Linked DNA regions of Homo sapiens: region 1 is linked to region 2. The links are contacts of gene promoters, found by promoter capture Hi-C in blood cells and fetal thymus (Javierre and others, 2016). All regions are on one chromosome and are shown on one strand. The core of a region is centred on a gene start or on the middle of the fragment in contact, and the rest is flanking DNA. Distances in the headings are between cores, read along the strand shown.

Evidence for each region. Contacts are between HindIII fragments. The CHiCAGO score rates a contact against its expected background, and 5 or more counts as called.
Region 1: the fragment with the promoter of OR8D4 here is called in contact with the fragment with the promoter of OR10S1 in region 2 in 1 of 17 cell types (neutrophils); the score reaches 5.8 in neutrophils.

Annotation. Positions count from the first base shown.
Region 1 is chr11:123,900,878-123,904,805 of GRCh38, reverse strand. OR8D4 (olfactory receptor family 8 subfamily D member 4) reads right to left here and starts at 2,639. Exons shown (of 2, transcript NM_001005197.2): 1 at 2,549-2,639. The HindIII fragment of the contact is 7,569 bases long and covers 1-3,928 here.
Region 2 is chr11:123,976,215-123,979,801 of GRCh38, reverse strand. It overlaps OR10S1 (olfactory receptor family 10 subfamily S member 1), which reads left to right and starts at 2,021. Exons shown (of 1, transcript NM_001004474.2): 1 at 2,021-3,141. The coding sequence starts at 2,138. The coding sequence ends at 3,106. The HindIII fragment of the contact is 7,911 bases long and covers 1-3,587 here.

The sequences.
Region 1 (3,928 bases), core at 1,390-3,889, 76 kb after region 2:
AATAGGACAAGCCAAACTTCCGTAGGCAGCTTGAGTTCCCAGGATGCAGGTGACTCCTTATTTCCCAAATCCTTCTCACAGTTTAAAACAAATAAGCTGCATGAGCACTGAACAGCTATTCTCTGAGCAGGCTTCCCCATTCTTCAGAACCTGTGTCTTTTGTATCTGCTCCTCTCTCATCCTAAATGATGGAGATGGAAGATCACGTGCAAAAGTGAGTGTCCAATTGCTCTTTGCCTGTTACAGAAATACCCGGAGTCTTCCTTTCCCATTACTCCTTACCAGTTAGCATTCATGTGTGTAGTCTAGTCACAGAGGCTTATCGAAGTAATGTTCAAAAAACCTATATGCTCAGTTTTTTGTCTTTAATATCATGGGTTTTTTAAAGCATGTTTTAAAATCTGTCCTGAGTGTTACAAACACACTGACCACTCTTATATTTAATTCTCCTGCATGCCCCCTAATTCCTACTGGGCTCCCTCTCCAAGTAAAATGTCTTATTCTGCTCATGTTCCTTGTTTTATTCTAGTGTCCTGCACTGTTCTTCCCTCTTCTCAAGCCTGTGAGGTTTCTTTTTCCTGTGTTCTCACTTTCTAAAACATTTCTGTGGTTTAGGTTTGTACTACACAGTGTGGTCTATGAACCAGTAGTAGCAGTATCACTCAGAGATTTTTTTAGCAATGCACAGTCTCAGGCCCTACCTCACACCTGCTGAGTGAGGATCTACATTTTAGTGGGATTCTCACATGATTTGTGAGTGCATTAACATTTGAGAGGCGCTATTTTCAGTTATTTTCTCCTAGAGCTGAAGTCATCGATCTTCTTTCTTGTTTCCTTCTCTAAACTTTTCTGATTCATTTTGTGCCAGAAAGCATTACCTGATTATGTAAAGCCCATCTTTGAAGACATCTTCTCAAGGAAAGCCTTCTCAGATGAAGAATAGAAAGTGTACAATTTTACATTTCAGTATTTTGCCACCTATTTGAAAACTCACAGATTCCATGGCAGTGTAATGTGCATGTCAAATAGATTATTGCAACAAATTGTATTCTGTTTTTGCATTTGTAGGAAGAAAAATTATACACATTCCATCTTAGTCCACACAAAAGTAAGCAATGATAACCAGCATCTACTTTATTTAACCAACCGATAAACAGTAAACTTGACTAGCCTAGGGATACAAATTTATGAGGTTGTATTTCTGACCAAAATAATCTACTACATTGATTCAGACCTCATTCAGGACTCAGGTGGTTTTTAGCAATTTAAAATCATAAGAAAAGTGTTTTTAAACATTTCAATGCATCTCACAGTATTATTAAAACTATGACTATTGAAAGTATTTTGCAAAGGTAAATGCTAGATCAGCATTGCCCAATAGACATATAATGCAGACACACGGGCAATTTAAAACATCCTAGAAGTTCATTTTGTAAAAAGTCAGAATAAAAAGATAAAATACATTTTACTAGTATGTTTTGTTTAACTCAGTTCAGTCCTTGATATCCATAGGAGACTGGTTCCTGGACCCCTTCAGATACCAAAATCCCTGAATGCTCAAGTCCCTGATTTAAAATGGTGTCGTATTTTTATGTAACCTAACTAAGCACATCCTTTTGTATACTTTAAATCATCTCTAGATTACTTATAATACCTAATATAATGTAAATGCTAAGTAAATATTTCTTTTAGTATATTGTTCAGGGAATAACAAGAAAAATGTCTGTACATATTCAGTACAGATATAACCACCCATTAAAAAAAAATCTTCCATCTGCCATTGGTTGAATCCACAGATGTGGAACCCACAGACACACAGGCCAACTGTACATGCAAAATGATGTACATGTACATCATTTCAACATATAATTCATATTTTAAAAATAATGAGATATTTTACATTATTTTATTATACAAATCTTTGAAATCCATAGTGTATTTTATACCCGGCCAGATTTCAAATGCTCAGTAGCCACCTATGGCTAGTGGCTATATTACTGGACAACAGAAGTCTAGAATGTGATCTTTTTCCCTAAATCTTTCAAATCTGAATTGTCCCCTTTTAAAGAAAGAAACCATTAGTACAGAGGTAACAGAAAGACCATGAACCCTGAGTTATAAGATGCAGTATCATTTTCATTTCTAAGATTTACAGTGCAACCTTTGACTCATAAAGTCTCTCTGAACTTCATATTTTAATCTGTAAAAAATAATAAATACTTCAAAAGATTGTTATGCAAATCAAATGAGACAATAACTGTGAATGTATTTTACATATTATAAGGTTCACATAAATATATTTGTAAATATATTTTTAAAGCAGGTGATTTCACAGATTAATTCATATATTAGACACAAGATACTTAGGTAAGGTGACTGGACAATGCATAAATGAGTCTGAGATGGATGCCTATGGCCTCTTCCCTAAACTTCTGTGACTCAGTGGCCTCAAACATGCAGCTCGAGAACCCATGGGGACAATCGGGAATTGATTTCAGAACACATTTTAATATACTTATAATATGAACATCATAATTCTGAAGCTCACCTTTTTCCTCCTGAAGACTGTAGGTGAGTATCTCTTCTTTCTCCTAACCTCATCACTTCAGGAGTAGAGATGGATTGATTTTACCTTCTTCTTTAAGTGTCTGAGTGACAACAGCTAACAAGAAGCTATGACTTTTATTCTCAGTTCAGGTATTTTGTGTCAAGAAATATAAAGACCAGTAGTCCCAAGGGTTTCTTGTCTCCTGAGGTACAGCAGCCTATGTATTTGTAAGAACTATCCATGAACTGGCCTATCATTTTGGGAATCTAACATGGATTAGTCACACTAATGCCCCTTGCCATTCAGTCGGGGAAGATACATGGTCTAACACATGGCTTGCATTTTAAAATGTTGAACAAATGAGGCATCATAGACAGTGCTTGGTATAATAAGCAGTAGGTAGACTTTGAGGTCAGAGATGGAACAGGTCATTACTGTCTAGAGCGATAAGGACGATCTTCATGGAAAGGTAGATTGTAAAATATGCCTTCAAAGGTGGGGAGGATCCATTTAAGCTGAGAGGATATGAAAGAATATTCAAGACGTAGATAAAGGCATAAGCAAAGGAACTGAGAAGTAGAAAACCTAAGGAATATGTGAAGAACACTGGGAATAGCTGAAGTGTTTCTTGGATGAAAGCAGTAGATTCAGTGTTTCTAGTGTCTGCTAATGATGGAAGAAGAGTCAGAGGAATGAGTCTGAGTCCAGCCCTCCAGTCTGTTCTAATGGCTTTCCAGGACATCTGGAAGAATGTGCCTGGTGATCCTTGGGTGAGCCTTTTGTGGCTCTGTTAAAATAACACATGCACTTAAAGCCTCCACATTTTCAGGGGCAAACAGCTATATTCAGATCTGCCTTTGGGGAAAACTGTGACACCACTTCAGATTATCTCATAATCAATAGTGTCTACCATGTCAAAGACACTAAATTTCTGGAGATGGAGCCAGGATAAATAAAGCATGGTCCTTCCCCCATTCATATTGGATGGTTATTAAAACATGTTTTAATGTCAATTTATTTCCTTGGGAAAAGTGCTTTGGTACCATTCCTATTCCCTTAACTATTCTCCCAGTGTACTGACCTCTGCTTTAACATTGTCCCCCCATACATGTATTTGTGCCTGTCTTCCCTGCTCTTTGGGAATTGCCCCCCCGCCGTTGAGACAAGGGACAATTTCTCATTCATTAGGGCCTATCGCAATGACCGGCTTAGAGTAGAATTTACTTTTTTCAGCATCATCCTCATTCCTACCCAGCATCTAGTTCAATCAGAACACTTTGTTCTCTCCTGTCTAGAAGATCGTGATCTGAAATGCTGATTAAAATAGGCCAACTTACAGGAGAGGATTTTCACTTACTAGATAAATAACAAAATGAGATC
Region 2 (3,587 bases), core at 772-3,271:
GGAGCTACTGACTTCAGGTCTCCTGAGAGCTGTTTTCTTGCTTAATAAAGCTCCTCTGCACCTTGCTCACCCTCTAGTTGTCCTCTAGTATCCTCATTCTTCCTGGACGCAGGATGAGAACTTGGGACCCACCGAACAGGGGGAGCTAAAGGTGCTGTAACATGTTCCTGGCTCATTTGCCAAGCTGTGGGTGGTGACATGCTCCCGGACTATGGGAGTAAAAAGTGGTGACCCTCCTGGTGGCCCAGACCTCGGGACTCCCCAAGCCAGAGCTGCTGTAACACTATAGCCCTCCCACCCTCTGCCAGTGCTGGGTGGCCACCCAATGGGACAGGAAGCAGAGGTGGGCCAGGCCAGCCCAGGAGCTGCAGGTCAGAGTGGGGTGGTGGGACTGAAAGGGCTGTAACACAAACAGACTGAAACACAAACCCCCAAACTCACCCCCTCATTGGCTGCATTGTGGGTGACGAGAAGGAAAGAAGAGCTTCTTGGAGCCCAGACCTCAGGACTCCCTGAGCCAGGGCTGTGACAGGCTGTAATACCCTCTTTGGGCTCTGCAGTTCCTGGCATCTCTGAGCTTTTGGGTGCCCCCATATTCCCCTCGTCCAGATGCTGGTGCCCATAATGGAAACCACTTGCAGTATGCCTGGTCCAGCTATAGCCTCACATGAAGCTGGTGCCTCTGCTGGCACCTGGAGCTGCCCATCCCACCACAGCAGCAAGTGTGCCTGGCTGTGTGCAGTGGCCAGACCCCTGTGCTTGCTCACTCACACACCTCTCGCCTCTCCCACCCTTGGCAAGCATGGAATCCAGGCTGGTAGCACGAGCCAAGTGCAGCCTGCCAGGCCAAGTGGGTGAAAAGAACCCAGCAGCCATGAGCAAACTCAAGCAGAGGAACCACCAGCCACAGAGGTTTCTGTCTGGAAAAGTGACATCCTAAGGATCCTGTGACAAGATCAGAGAGAGATTATGGCAAATTGAGGAGATGAGGCAAATAGCATCCCTGGATAACAGGAGTTTCTTAGGGGATTGCAGAAGATAAAGATTTTTTTCATGATAATGGAAATAGTTTACAGATAATTCTGAATGTAGGACAGAGATACACTTTATATCTCAGGCACTAAGGAACAGTAAGAAAAGATATATTCGAATTTTTTTAAGAAAACTGGCACAAAAAAGTTGAATACTGAATCATTTGGTATATCAGGGAGTAAGGAAGAGATGGGACATAAAATACCATTGTGAAAATCTAGGTGTAAAATATGAAGAGGTGGGTTTAGGTAAAATCCACAGGAATTGAAGAGACAACACGGAAAAAAAGCAGTTTAAGGAAATTTTTCACCTAATGCAACATCTGTTAGGCTAACGAGGTGAAAGATGGAAGAATCAAAGAGAACTCTTTAAATCTCAATTACAGTCCAGTGGAAAGGCTCAACAAGAAAGGAAAAGGCAAACAATTCCCCAAATTTTGAAACAGAGCTTTACAGGAAGAACACAAAGTGTATAGAAAAAATTGTCCTGATAATTATTCAGTCTATTCTCCAAGCCTCAATTGTTACACACTTGAGGATTGTGGGTAACTGAAATTCCAAAGAACTCCTCTGGTTGAGTAATGGGTGGGGCTGCTGTGTTTCTGGCTGATGTAATAGCACCAAAACTCCAGGCAAGTCTCACCTGAAAATAGGATGCATCTCCCTGATGACACAGCAATAAGAACCTGCCTTTCTACATCTACAGCATGGCAGGGTACATAGAGTAGGAGGGCAGAGGCATCACAATTCTGGAATATTTGCAAAAAATACTCATTGAGAGTAGGATTTATAATCCATATTTTTATTGTCATTATTTAGGGAGTGCATTTCTGCAAATAATTCTTACAGTCCTTTATATACCTCACCAAAACTGCAGATTTTGTATTGAAAGATTCATTATGAAGAAATAAACAGCAAGGAAGCACTAGACTAGAGCAGAACAAAACTGTAAGATGAACTTGTACATCTTTCTCTTGCTTACTGGGTAAGACCAAGGTGGTGTGGCTTGATGGATAATGACATCTCAGGAAAGGGATACAGCTATTTATTCCATTAATGTCAGTTTTGTTGCAAAGGGGATGACTAGCCGCTCTGTGTGTGAGAAGATGACCATGACAACGGAGAACCCCAACCAGACTGTGGTGAGCCACTTCTTCCTGGAGGGTTTGAGGTACACCGCTAAACATTCTAGCCTCTTCTTCCTCCTCTTCCTCCTCATCTACAGCATCACTGTGGCTGGGAATCTCCTCATCCTCCTAACTGTGGGCTCTGACTCTCACCTCAGCTTACCCATGTACCACTTCCTGGGGCACCTCTCCTTCCTGGATGCCTGTTTGTCTACAGTGACAGTGCCCAAGGTCATGGCAGGCCTGCTGACTCTGGATGGGAAGGTGATCTCCTTTGAGGGCTGTGCCGTACAGCTTTATTGCTTCCACTTTCTGGCCAGCACTGAGTGCTTCCTGTACACAGTCATGGCCTATGACCGCTATCTGGCTATCTGTCAACCCCTGCACTACCCAGTGGCCATGAACAGAAGGATGTGTGCAGAAATGGCTGGAATCACCTGGGCCATAGGTGCCACGCACGCTGCAATCCACACCTCCCTCACCTTCCGCCTGCTCTACTGTGGGCCTTGCCACATTGCCTACTTCTTCTGCGACATACCCCCTGTCCTAAAGCTCGCCTGTACAGACACCACCATTAATGAGCTAGTCATGCTTGCCAGCATTGGCATCGTGGCTGCAGGCTGCCTCATCCTCATCGTTATTTCCTACATCTTCATCGTGGCAGCTGTGTTGCGCATCCGCACAGCCCAGGGCCGGCAGCGGGCCTTCTCCCCCTGCACTGCCCAGCTCACTGGGGTGCTCCTGTACTACGTGCCACCTGTCTGTATCTACCTGCAGCCTCGCTCCAGTGAGGCAGGAGCTGGGGCCCCTGCTGTCTTCTACACAATCGTAACTCCAATGCTCAACCCATTCATTTACACTTTGCGGAACAAGGAGGTGAAGCATGCTCTGCAAAGGCTTTTGTGCAGCAGCTTCCGAGAGTCTACAGCAGGCAGCCCACCCCCATAGTCTGTGCTATCAAAACTCACAATTTGCCTGCCAGGAAAGCAACTATTCACATCTCAAATCATTCAGGTGGAAATCAGAATAACTGAGTTGCAACTCAGTCACACACTTTCCCCCAGCTTTGGCCAAATGGTCTACCTCACTCTCTCCCTTGCAAACACTTCATCTAGAAAATGAGGAGGCTGGATTAGATGATGTCTAGAGTCTCTCCAAAATCTATGTTCTATGGTTCAGAGGTATGTGAAATGCTATTCGTATCCTCATTTGTATTAGTAAATGATTGTTTTACTTTTTATGAAATAACTTTATTAAATACATACAGAATACTGTAAACAAAAATATAAAAGGCAATGAAAAAACCTTTGTATACATATTTCCCAGCTTAGAAACCACATTTTTTAAAATGATAAAATACAAGGAGAAAAGTGATTGTCCAAGGTGACTTAGAAAGTCACATTTTCTTTATTCTCCCACTCATGGTAGT